Regions from separate parts of the Homo sapiens genome. Here all the other regions are linked to region 1. The links are contacts of gene promoters, found by promoter capture Hi-C in blood cells and fetal thymus (Javierre and others, 2016). All regions are on one chromosome and are shown on one strand. The core of a region is centred on a gene start or on the middle of the fragment in contact, and the rest is flanking DNA. Distances in the headings are between cores, read along the strand shown.

Region 1 (4,612 bases), core at 1,612-4,111:
GTTAGTGAAATAATGAATTTAGCCCTCGGAGCCAGCTGTGCTTTTTCGCCCCCGAGACTCAGGTGCCTGATGAGTTGCAAGCTCAACACAATTCCCTGCTCACAAAAAGGGAACTCACTCCTTCCTCTCTCTAATCTTGAAATCGCATAGGATAGTATTTTAGAAATAATGTATATGTGAGCCCCTTTTATTTTCTTTTTCCCCTTTCTTCTTTTTTTAACTTTTATGTTAGGTTCAGGGGTGCATGTGAAGGTTTGTTACATAGGTAAACTCGTGTCATGGGAGTTTGTTGTGCGGATTACTTCATCACCCAGGTATTAAACCCAGTACCCAATTGTTATCTTTTCTGCTCTTCTCCCTCCTCCCACCTTCCCCCTCAAATAGATCCCAGTGTCTGTTGTTCTGAGCCCCACTCCTTTTTATTTTTTTATTAAAAGAGGAAACTGCTTACAAACTTTGGCACTTCTTGTCTCTAACGTAAACACTTGGGACCCCGCTTCACAGTTAGTCTTGACTTAGTCCCCTGTCGTCTGCGAAGGCTGAAGCTGGGAATTATTAGCGTCCAGGTTGTCTAGTTCCAGTCCCCAAGGCTTTCACAAACTGGCCCCAGCCTACCCTTCCTGCCTGTCACCCAGCACGTCACCCACCCGCACTGTCCAGAAACCCGGCGAAGTCTCAAGCCACACTTCTACTTGCACCCTGGTCTTTCCAGATCTTGGTATTGCATTGAGTCTTCCTTCTACCGGCAATGCTCTTTCTAGATTTAGAATTTTTAGCTTCAAGATTCTGCTCAGATGTCACCTGTTCTTTTTTTTCTGAGGCAGACTCTCACTCTGTCGCCCAGGCTGAAGTGCAGTAGTGTGATCTTGGCTCACTGCAACCTCAGCCTTCCAGGTTCAAGTGATTCTTGCACTTCAGCCACTGGAGTAAGCTGGGATTACAGGTATGCACCACCACACATGACTTATTTTGGTACTTTTAGTAGAAATGGGGTTTCGCCATGTTGCCCAGGCTGGTCTAGAACTCCGGGCCTCAAGTGATACACCAGCCTCAGCCTCCCAAAGTGCTGGGATTACAGGTGTGAGCCACTGGGCCTGGCCGACAGATGTCACCTGTTTTGCAACCACTTCTTCCCTTATTACCGCAGCTGCTAACACGTACCATGCGTACAACGGTGGCGTGTCTACTGGCTCTGCCAGCCTCCTCTAGGGTGGAGATCAGATCTCAGCACTTTCTGCATCACCAGTGCATACGGCCCATGGTGAAATTAACAGCATCCAGTGTGTGTTGAAGGACTGAAAGGATGAACCACCCAGAAGAGACAGTATCCAGCGTATTCTTCCAGTGCTCAGGATTTTCTTTTTGGCCTCATTCCAGGAGAGGGTTGGCAGGACAATACTTGGGAGCACTTGAAAAGCAAGAAACTCAGGAGAGAGGTCACCATCCAGTGATGAAGGCACTACCAGTGATGACATGTTCTGTCTCTACCTCAACTTGCAGCCCAGGGGCACCTCACAAACGTGCTTCATCGATGACAGTGTATGTTTATAGCGCTTGTGTTGTTGTGAAAATAAACAGCACTTGAAGTGTAAAATTAGAAGTAAATAAATGAGTTAGGAATTATTTTCTCCACTGTTTAAACAAAGCTACTTCTCAGGTGGGACATTAGCTTCCTTGGAGCAAAGCCAAAATCTGGCTTGGTTAGCCAGAAAATGTAAACACATTTCTGTTAATGTTCAGGGTAGAAAGGAGAACCTCTCCCTTAACTGCTGTGTGAGGCTGGACTAGTTATTCAACCTCTCTGGGCCTTGGACCCTTATCTTTAAAATGAGGCTAATAGTGCCTCCTTCATTAAGTCTTTGCCAGGACTGAAATGTACATTTCATAGCATGATGCTTGGATCAGAAAAGCACTCCATATATATTAGCTATTTGAATTATGATTTGGGTTTCAGGGAGTTTATTCCACCCTTATAAACATATCAAGTGGACACCATGTTTTGGTCTTTTCTTTCCTCCTCAAACCAGGCTGTGCTGAATGGGAATCCTCAAACAGCCCTCAGCCTCAGGGATAAGGTGTCCCAGCCATTTCTACTGTAATGGCTAAGAGCCCTTTTTGTCCAGTCTCTCCCTGTCCTCAGTTGTCCAGGTGAGGACAGCTGACTTTGGAATAGAAAGATGATGGGGCTACGTGTCCTTATTGTGAATCAAAACGTCAGGTCCATGTTTTGATTCTGAGGTCAGAATCAAACCAACCTCCTGGTTGGTTGGCAGGTCCTTGGGACTTTTGTGCCTTCAAAATGTCAGGTTATTTGCCCTGACTCCAGTAGCCCAGCACGACCCAAGTACTACATTCTTGGGCAGAGCCAGCCAGAGCCAGGAGGCACTGACTTTGTCTCTCCGTAGCCAAATGGCTGGGAAACTAGCTGGGAGGAGAGGAGGTGAGGCCAGCAGCTTGTGAACACACGGGCGGGCTCACTGTTGGCAGCGGGGAGGAGGCTCCTGGGCTGGGCTGAGCCCAGCCACCCTCACCCCAGGGGCCCACCACCCCACCTCCCCACCTCCCCCTCCTGTTATGAAACCCACGGGGACAACCACACATGTGGGCAGCCGGGGGCTTTCCTCGAATTGACAACAGCTTCTCGCTGTCGCTCGGCAGAACATGAGCTGCTTACATAAACACTGCCTCAGAGACACCTGCAGTGTGGGACGCAGGGAGTCGGAGGAGGGTGGAGGGAGAGGCAGAAAGCTGCAGGGTGAGAGAACGGCTCCCCACCCCACCATGGAGGGGCCGTCTGTGCATCCATACACTGCACACGCGTGCGCAGACACACACACACACACACAGACACACACGAAGTTGGTTACTTTCTCAGCTGTAACCAGGAGGCAGGGAAGAAGGCAATGCAGTCCTCATTCTTTAGAGACTCAACCTGTGTCCCCAGCCCTCCCCACCTCCTCCCACACCCCCCTCCAAACTCAGCTTGGCTGGGAAAGGAAACTCCCCAGTCTGCTGTGCTCCTGCAAGCTGAGTGTTTGCAGGTGAATCTACTCCAGGTACAGGAGCAGCTCCTGAGGGAAAGGGGGTGGAGGGTGAGCATGGAGAGGGAGGGGGAGAGGGAGGGAGGGAGGGAGGGAGGGGCGGAATCCCTGGAATTTAAGGTTAGAGAATATAGTAGGGGACTGGCCTGGTAAGATGGTATTTGGGGGCCTCTACGGAAAACACATCCTGCAGGTCAGACCAGCATGGGCTCTGCGGGAGAGGGTGGAGGGTCAGTGCATGCTCAGTGGGAGGGCTCTGAGAGGTGGCAGGACCCGGCCGTGTGGCAGTGGCCTTGGGTTTCCAAGTGGTGCTTTCTCACTTTTCTGCCCGTCAGTTTACCTGACACACCAAGTGACTGAGATTGCTGCCTGTGAGTTACCCTATTGCTCATATCTAATCACAAAGCGCAGACAGGTGGGGAGGGCTTCCCTCTCCGGGCCTGGCACCTCTGGGTTTGGGTACTCTGGCCTCCTTCCTCTGGGATGCTCACTCGGACTCTGCTACTGGCCAGCCTGAGCAAGTCGGCAGAGCACAGGATCTCCAAACAGGGGTGCATTCCCTGGCTTCATCAGAGAGGAGGCTTGGAGCTCAGGGAACAGAGAGCAAACTGGATGTCTAGGCCAAGCTGGATGCCAAGGGGAAAATAGCCCTCCTTTTGAAAGTATTCTTGCATTTTAACTGTCATCACAGTTAAGCCACCACGGGCAGACCCTGGAGGCTGGAAGAGGGCATCCAGAATGATGTTGGGCTGGTTTCTTATCACAGAGCACCGGGTAGGGGGATGAGCTAAAAATTATAGTTCTTGTTCCCAGCTTAGCGTGGCTATGGGGCGGGTGGTATCTCCTCTGTGTTCCTTCATCTCTTTAGAGACTGAAAGAGAGGACAAGCCCTTCCCCATGGGAAACATTTTACTATGCTCTATCCTAATCTCATCTCAGAGCCCACTCACAGTGAATAGATCTCAGCTAGGAAGGGAAGCAAATATCCCCAGTGACGATGAAGACCAGACATGGAGGTTTAACTGATCTGTGTGAGGCCACAGAACGAGAGTGTGGCCTCAACGCTCTCAATGTTGACAGAACAGCACTCAACATATTGCATTGCGACATGTCTGCTTCTGGACTGCCTATCCCACCAGGCCGTGAGCGCCCCAGAGGTGGGAACTATATCTTAGTCACCCTTGTACTTTCAAGCCTCACAATGGGACCTGCCGAAAAAAGGGCACTCAGTAAACGTCTTGTGAACGCATGAATTGGTGAGTAGCAGAGATGAGATTTCAAGCCAGTGGGGAGAGAAGAACACCTCTCAAAAGGAATGTTGACTCCAAGAAACATCAAAAGAGGGAAAGAACCTTGAGATTTTCCAATTCCAGCTCTTCAATCTACAGAAGCAACTGAGGTCCAGATAGGATAGATCACAGGCTCATTCCCATATAGCTAATTGGAGGCAGAGCCAGGACTACCACCGGGCTATTGTCACCACGTTATCCCACGAGGGTCGAGGGTCGGGGAGGACAGGGAGCCTGCCCAGGGGTGCTTCACACCGGGGGAGGTGTGATTTCAGGCCTTAA
Region 2 (3,997 bases), core at 216-2,715, 210 kb before region 1:
GAGGTGGGTCATTCTTTAAAAAAACAAACAAGGCTGGCCGCGGTGGCTCATGCTTGTAATCCCAGCACTTTGGGAGGCCAAGACGGGTGGATTACTTGAATCCAGAGGTTAGAAACCAGCCTGGCTAACATAGCGAAACTCAGTCTCTACTAAAAAATGGTGGTGCATGCCTGTAATCCCAGCTATCTGGGAGGCTGAGGCACGAGAATCGCTTCAACCCGGGAAGTAGAGGTTGCAGTGAGCTGAGATGGCACCACTGCACTCCAGCCTGGGCAACAGGGCAAGAGCCTGTCTCAAAAAACGAAAAACCATGAACAAGAACATAATAGAAAATATCAGAGTGCATTGCACACATACTGTGTCAAACTTTTATTTCAAGTATAAGTGTGTGTGTGTGTGTGTGTGTGAGTTGTGATATCAAAGGTATTTCTAACTGTGAGTTGTGTTCAAAAAATTGTGGAAACTAGTCCAGGTGTGGTGGCTAACACTTATAGTCCCAGCCACTCAGGAGGCTAAGGCAGAAGGATTGCCTGGGCCCAGGAGTTTGAGACTGTGGTGAGCTGTAATTGCACTACTGCACTCCAGCCTGGGCAACAGTGAGACCCCCCGATTTGTTTAAAAAAAAAAAAAAAAAAAAAAGGAAACTATTGTCCAAGTTAGCATCCTTGGCTCCATTTTTTCTCTTCTGAGTTATCCTGCAGGCCACTGCCAAAATAATCTGACTAAATCATTGCTTTGGCCATGCCACTTCCCTGCTCAAAAGCCTTCAATTTCCAAAAGCCTAGGCTCAATTTCAAGTCCTCAGCATGGCACTGAAAGCACTATATAACGTGGCCCTGAGGTGGAGTGCCAATTCTCCCCAATGCAGCCTCTACCCAAACCACTACTTACCACCTCCAAGCTGGCCTCCTGACAGTCCGCACAAACACTCTTGACGCATTCTGACTCCACACACCTTTTTCATGCCATGCTTCTTACCTGGATCCTTCTCTCCCTCCCACTGAAACAGCACGTATTTGCTAAGTCAAGGTTCAGTTAAAATTACATCTGCTTCAAGTCTTTCTTGATGATGCCATACTGACATTTAGTGATCGGCTGTCCTTTTGAATCCCTAGCACTTTCCATACACCGGCTGAAGATAGAGATCGACTCATGCAAGTCTTTTAAATGTTCCTCAACATTTAGCACAGACTTTTGCACATTATAAATGTTGAACAAGCATTAAATCAACAAATATTTGTTGAGCACCATGTATGTGCATCACACTATACTGGGCCCTATTTGATGGATTAGCCACCAAAATCATGAGTTTGGGAAAACAATTCTAATAGGTTTAACAGCTGACTCTAAAGCTTACTCCGACAGATTTCCTTAAAGAGTATAATACATATAACACCTCTGACTAAGTAGCTGTGGGACTCAAGACACTTGACTCTTTCTGACTGCTCCAAGATCTGGAAGAAATCCTTCTCCTCTCATTAAACGCCTGAAATAAGAGCAAGCTCACATACAGAATCTCACAGACATTTTATAGGGCCCCTGTCTTCAAGGCATTACTATGCTCTCCACAGAGGAAGAAAAGCTTGGTGTGTCCAAAGTCACAGAGGACATGAGTGATGAGGCTGCCTTAGGCAGGGGCCCCATAGGTGGAAGAAGCTGAGCCAGTTACAGAACACCTAGAGGTCTGCAGGACACAAGGACTTCCTCTATCACTTATGTGTGAAGACTGTCAACTCCCTGTGATTCACTACCAACCTGCTAGTGTCAACACACCTTAGCAAAGTGAAACTCCGTGATCCAATCAGCTTGGGAATGGTCTGCTACTCTTCTAATATTCCTGATCATGGGGACAGAATACTCAGGAGACACATTTTAGTTCTAGTTCTTCCAGGTACTAGCTGAGTGAATTCTAGTAAGTTACCAAGGGGGATCATAAGACTGCACTGCTTGCGCAGACATAAGCATGAAGTCAGACAAAGGACGGGAAAGCCATCTGAAAAGTTAGAAGCACTCTACACATGTGAGACAGCAACGGTAATCATAGGGGAAAGGACTTCACTGAGAAAAAAACTGAATAATGGTTTTGTTTGACCCAGAAGTTTACCTTCTTTATATTCCATTCATTTAACAATTACCTGTTAGATACCCACTATGTGCATGATACCCACTATGCGTACAAAAAGATGAAGAAGCTCTATGTCGCTCCTGTTCTCATGGGGTTGGTGTGGAAGGGAGGTGTACGTCTGTGATACTCAGAAGGATGCAGAAGTGCTACAGGAGAAGCACTATGGAAGTACAGAAGAAACCCAGCAAAGCACTTTGGAGTGGAGGATCAGAAGGAGTGGGGAGGAGAAATCACAGGCAGCCTGACCTGGAAGCCACTTGTGTCGGTCAATTTAACAATAGTACTTTCAGAGGCTCTTCATTTTAGGAAGTGGTTTGTAGGTTCTGCAAGTTTTTATCTTAACATTTTTCCTGAGCTGAGGCAAGTCAGGAAAAGGGAAAAAAGGCCCCATTCATATATTTAATAAACACTTCCTGACTGCCAGGAACAGTGCTAGGGAATAGCAATGACCACAAGACAGTCCCCATACTCAAGAACTCACAGACAAGTAAACCAGCCAGCGGAGTACAGATGCTGATGAAGGTCAGAAGAGCGGCACCCAGTGCAGCATGGCAGGGTGTGAGGGGCCACTCAGGGAAGACCCTCAGAGAAGGTGAAGCGTGGCCTGACTCTTGAAGGATGAGTAGATGCTGGCCTAGTGGACAGGGTGTGAGTGAAGGGGAAACATTTCAGGCAGAAGGGACAGTTATCCAGAGGCACATGGGCACGAGAGAGCAGGAGAAGCTTGGAGGATGGAACACACGGAGTGAAGATGGACAGCCAGGCCCAGAGGGCCTCAGAAGCCCTGGCCCAGAGTTGGGCCTCTATCCTGAAGATGATGGCAAGGGACTACAGGGTGAAAACAGGAAAGAAACAAAAAGGATCAAACATGAGGAACACCAAAGTGTGAAGGGCAGACAGAGGTAGAAGACCCCGGAAGAGTCAGAAAAATATCACTCCACTCATTTCACAGCAGGCTCAGGTGGCAAATTGTCAGCAGGAATGGCCACTCCATGCTACAGATGGAGAAACTAAGACAGAGAACAGCTCAATGCTTGACCAGGCCGCACTGTGAGTGGCTGAGCCAGAACCTGAACGCAGCACTCTAACTCCTACTCACACTTACCTGCTCTGCCTCTAATTTCCTTCCTTTTTGTCAAACTACTGGACCCCTAGGTATAGGGAGATTTCTTCCAGTACTCCCTTTTCCTCCTCGTTTAAGCCTAAAATCATCAAGGTGTATGGTTCAACAGGAGGCTACAATTCCTGGAGCCAGCTTAGATTGAGGTCACTATTCTTAATTCTACTTAATCCTCTCTCCATACCATAATAAAGCCACCTGAGTATACACTGGAAGATGGGGAAGAGAGACAGGAAGGGGAAAAGGGAGACAAGAGGGAGACAGAAATAGGGAGGGAGGGGGTGAGTGGGGAGGAGAGGAGAGAAAGTTGGGAGGGGGGCAAATGGCGGGGGGAGGTGGGGTGGACAATGGGAGAGAAAAAGAGAGCGAGAGAGAGAGAAGCATTTGGCTTGAGGCCAAGAAGTGAATCTGTGATCTGAGATGTGAATATCAAATGCCTTCTTCCTAGTAGGACAGACCACCGGGTCACTTTTCTGAAAGGCAGATGGGTGTATGGGGAGTGGATGGGTAGATGGTGCAGGAAGGCAGCAGGTACCCACTAAACAAACAGGGGGTGGGCGGGTTGCCTGCACAGAGGAAGCAGAGAACAAAGGCCTCTCACTCTTCATGCAAAGTCCACAGTGTGCAAAGGGCATCAATATTGGACATTTCTCACTGTGACATTTTGAAAGCTCAGCCTAGCCCAGAACAATGGTTACCCTCTGGGGACCATGGGCCATGTGCCTTATTTAATGATGGCTTGGCACAGCCCA
Region 3 (4,280 bases), core at 1,214-3,713, 230 kb before region 1:
GAAAAGGTGAGGCCAAGGAGTTTGAGGCTGTAGTGACCTATAATTGCACCACTGTTCTCTAGCCTAAGCGACAGAGCAAGACCCTATCTCCAAAAAAAAAAAAAAAAATCCGCTGGGTATGGCAGCTCATACCTGCAATCCCAGCACTTTGGGAGGCCCAGGTGGAGGACTGCTTGAGCCAGGAGTTCAAGACTAGACTGGGCAATATAGCAAGATCCTATCTCAAAAAAAAAAACACAAAAAAACAACCACCAAAAATTAGCCGGGCGTGGTGGCACATGCCTGTAGTCCCAGTCACTTGAGAGGCTGAAGCAGGAGGATCACTTAAGCCCAGGAGTTTGAGGCTGCAGTGAATTATGATCATACCACTGCACCCTAGCCTGGGCAACAGAGGGAGACCCTGTCTTTTAAAGAGATAAAGGAAGGGAACAGAAGGGAAGAAAGGGGAAGGGGAGGGGGAGGAAAGGAAAGGAAAGGAAAGGAAAGGGGAAGAGAGGAAAGGCGAGGATGGCAGGAAAGGGAAGACACCCGCGAGGATGGCAGGAAAGGGAAGACACCCTGTGAATGACAATAAAACCTTGTGTCTTGAGGAGGTGCAAACTCAGAAATTACAGACTCACTGTAATAGCTATCATCCTTGAAATCACGAATCATTATGGTCTATATTAGGTGCTTTGCTACTTCTCTATAGAGGGGCAAACTTTGGATCTGCAAATCTTCTTTGGAGGCTGGGGAGAGTTAATAAATAACAGAGGCATTAGTGATTGGCCGGGCTGGATTATTTCCCTGGGAAAACTCACAAAATCAAAAAGCTGCTAACTTGGAAAATAATCTGAAATCCAGCCCAAGTCTGCCTTGGACTTGCTATGAAGAGCTGCACCTCAGATTCCCTACTTTACAGCATGGCACAGCGGAAGGAGGATCATGGGTCTAGGAGTCTCAACCTGAGCATTAGCCTGGCCTCCGCTTCCACTGAGCAGGCTGCCCTTCGGCAGGTGACGGCTGCACTGGGACTCCATTTCCTGCTGCATAAAACGAGTAGATTAAACTAGGTAATTTAGGAGCTTCCTTGAGGCACTGAGCATTCTATGATTCTCCAACTCCAGGAAGAAAAGAGGCCAGGCTAGAAAGTGCATCCCAATGGCTATGGAAAGGGTAGACTCCCGATCCCAGGTAGGAAGTGAGTCAAGAATCCCTGCGATCAGCTCCGGCAGAGGGCTCTCAGCCAGCCATGCTCATCCCTCTCCTTTTGGCTCTTCCATTCAAACCTCCCGTTTCCACAATGCACCAGACCCGCTCCACCAGGCCCACATCCCACCCTTCCCTCCACACCCCCTTCTCCCTGAGCCTGCTTTCCTTTGGCCCAAACTGACCAACACACTGTTGCTAAACCCAAGGGTGTAATTAACCACCGATAATGACCCCAAACAGTGATCCAGTGGAGGGGATGGGCCAGCCTGAGTCACAGTGGTTTAAATTTAATTTCTGGAGGACATCCTGTTTATTGTTAACCCAGCCCCATAATTTGGGAGTGTTAACCCTTTGGGGGCTGGCTGATTCGCATCTTCTGTAAACAAATAAATTCTGACTACATAATAACCAGGGAGGAAAGGTAAGGTCTGGAAATGAAAAGGAAAGAAAAAATGAAATTGTTGCTTCCTTTCTCAGACCTAAACAGAAAAGGTTCACGGGGAGATGGGTTCCTTCCCCACACCCTGGTTACTTTTCCCATTCTCAGGGATTACAGCTGACAGACAGGATGGTTTTTGGACAGTGAGCAATTGCCCTCAAGGACCATTCTGGAGACAGTGCAAATGAGGTCCTGGTGGCAAGGACCACTCTGGAGACATTGCAAATGAGGTCCCAGTGGCATTGCAGACAGACAGCCTGTATTCTGTGGGAAGCATGCTGCAGCTGAAAGCGCTCTCGACCCGGTATCAGAAAACGTGGCCTCTGCCTCCGACTCATTTTGTGATTTGAACAAATCTCAATCTCTCTGGAGCCCAGTTTCTTAAACTATAAAACAAAGGAGTTGGAATCCCTTCAGCTTATCTAAAACTGGAATTCTAAACTGAATCTCCACTCCAAGAATATGGGGAGTAGGATGAGAATTCTAAAGAAGTCTCAGAGTGGTCTTCAAAACGATTCTTGGAGTTTAGTACTGTAGACAAGGGACCAAGAATCAGAAACGTAGATTCCATTATTTGTGGTGTGACAGCCTCCCTCTAAACCTTAATTTAGTATCACGGTATTTTTAGAACTGTAAGTTACCATAGAAATTTTTTCCCCAGTTCAACCCTCTCCTTTTGTAGATGAGGAAGCAGATCCAGAAAGGTTCAGTGACAAGCCCAGGGTCACTCTGCTGGCTCACAAGAGAACAAGGAAGAAGCAACCAGCACCCCTGGTGTCCAGCCCAGTTTTCTCTCTGCTACCCACAGTTCAATACTCTTTTCACATGAATTTGTTATAAGTATGTGATGAAAACACCTAGTCTCAAAGTCCTACAGAATTCCAAGGGGCTCATTGTTCTTAAGGGTCTGGAAGTGAATGGGAGGACGTTCGTGCTGAACTGGGTGCTCTGGCACAATAAGAGGTTATGTACACCACGCAGACGGAACAGCTCTTTCCTTGTATTTTCACCACAGTTACTGATGATCACAGAGACCTATCATACTGTTCTGATTATTTTTCAACTCACCTGCTCAAAAGCCCTATTAGAACACTTTAAAAAAATCCTTCACATTTAAAAAGTTTTAAAGAAAAACTGTGAGGCCGGGCGTGGTGGCTCACACCTGTAATCCCAGCACTTTGGGAGGCCGAGGCGGGTGAATCACGAGGTCGGGAGATCGAGACCATCCTGGCTAACACGGTGAAACGCCGTCTCTACTATAAAAAATACAAAAAAAAAAAATTAGCTGGGCATGGTGGCGGGCACCTGTAGTCCCAGCTACTCAGGAGGCTGAGGCAGGAGAATGGCATGAGCCTGGGAGGCAGAGCTTGCAGTGAGCCGAGATTGCGCCACTACACTCCAGCCTGCGCGACAGAGTGAGACTCCGTCTCTCAAAAAAAAAAAAAAAAAAGGAAAAGAAAAATTGTGAAGGAAGTACATAATTCCTATGTTGCCCACCCTCAGTTTCCCCTTTTATTAACATCTGATATTGGTGTGGTACATTGGTCACAAACAATGAACCAACAGTGAGAGTCAAGACTATCCTTTCTTCAGACCTCCTCAGTTTTCCCCATGTCCTTTCTCAGTTCCAGCATCCCACCCAGGTCCCCACGTCACCTTCAGTCACTATGTGCCCCGAGGCTCCGCTTGGCTGTGACAGTTCCTAAATCTCTCCCTGCTTTTGATGACCATGCCAGTTTTAAGTGCTGGTCAGGCATTTTACAGAATGCCAACTTGGACTTGTCTGATGCTTTTCTCCTGACTAGACTGGAGTTATGGCTTTTGGGGTAGAAGATCACAGAGCAGAAGAGCCATCCTCACCACATCATACCCAGGGTCCACGATGTCAACATGCCTTACCCTGCTGATGTGAACCTTGATCACCAGGCTGAGGTCATCTTTCTCAGCTTCCTACTGTGAAGTTACTCTCCCTTCTCCCTTTCCCTACTGCACTCCTTGGGAGGAAGCCATCATGCAGAATCCTATTTCTTATTTATTCAACCATTCAATATCAGTATGGACTCACAGATATTTATCTTATATTTTGGGTTATAATCTAATACATTATTTTGATGCTCAAACTGTTCCAGCTTTCACCACTGGCAGCTCTTTCAGTTGGCTTCTGTGTCCCTTTGACATATCCACATCAACGTATGTATGTATGTATGTATGTATGTATGTATGTATGTATGTATGTAAGTGTGTGTGTGTATTTCCTTACTTTCCAGCTCTACGACATGTACCAAGTGCATCTTGTACATTTCCTGCCTCAGCCCTAGAATCAGTGGAGGAACTTACATTAGTATTCAATGTGCTTCTGTAATATGTTCTCAACCTTACTTTTCCTATTCACTCAGTACAACTGCCATGATTCAGCCAAGTGGCTGTTCATTAATCCCCCAAATCTAGACTCCTTATAATTTCCTGTCCCAAACTGGGACATTTTGGAGTACACGTCATCAGGACAACTTGGACTGCCCAGGGCAACCAGGACAAATGGCTACCCCACCTATATGGAATGCTTTCTCTGCTCCCAGGAAAACTTCTCACCTTCTTCTAAACGTCAAAGACTTATTTGGCATTTAAAAAATTCTACCCTTTACAGTTAATT

The links. Contacts are between HindIII fragments. The CHiCAGO score rates a contact against its expected background, and 5 or more counts as called.
Region 2: a contact is called between a fragment that was not itself captured here and the fragment with the promoter of PEBP4-AS1 in region 1, in 6 of 17 cell types (M1 macrophages, M0 macrophages, megakaryocytes and 3 more). The highest score is 7.8, in M1 macrophages.
Region 3: a fragment that was not itself captured here is called in contact with the fragment with the promoter of PEBP4-AS1 in region 1 in 6 of 17 cell types (endothelial precursors, M2 macrophages, M1 macrophages and 3 more); the score reaches 9.8 in endothelial precursors.

Annotation. Positions count from the first base shown.
Region 1 is chr8:22,875,111-22,879,722 of GRCh38, forward strand. It overlaps PEBP4-AS1 (PEBP4 antisense RNA 1), which reads left to right and starts at 2,862. Exons shown (of 4, transcript NR_125433.1): 1 at 2,862-3,041. All of the region lies in intron 3 of PEBP4 (phosphatidylethanolamine binding protein 4), which reads right to left. RefSeq lists a silencer at 2,445-2,514. The HindIII fragment of the contact is 10,906 bases long and covers 1-4,612 here.
Region 2 is chr8:22,662,824-22,666,820 of GRCh38, forward strand. The region is part of intron 1 of BIN3 (bridging integrator 3); the gene reads right to left. Among named protein-coding and RNA genes, the nearest start is that of BIN3, 4.3 kb to the right of the region's middle. The HindIII fragment of the contact is 230 bases long and covers 1,351-1,580 here.
Region 3 is chr8:22,645,075-22,649,354 of GRCh38, forward strand. The region is part of intron 1 of BIN3 (bridging integrator 3); the gene reads right to left. Among named protein-coding and RNA genes, the nearest start is that of BIN3-IT1, 5.0 kb to the left of the region's middle. The HindIII fragment of the contact is 5,709 bases long and covers 1-4,280 here.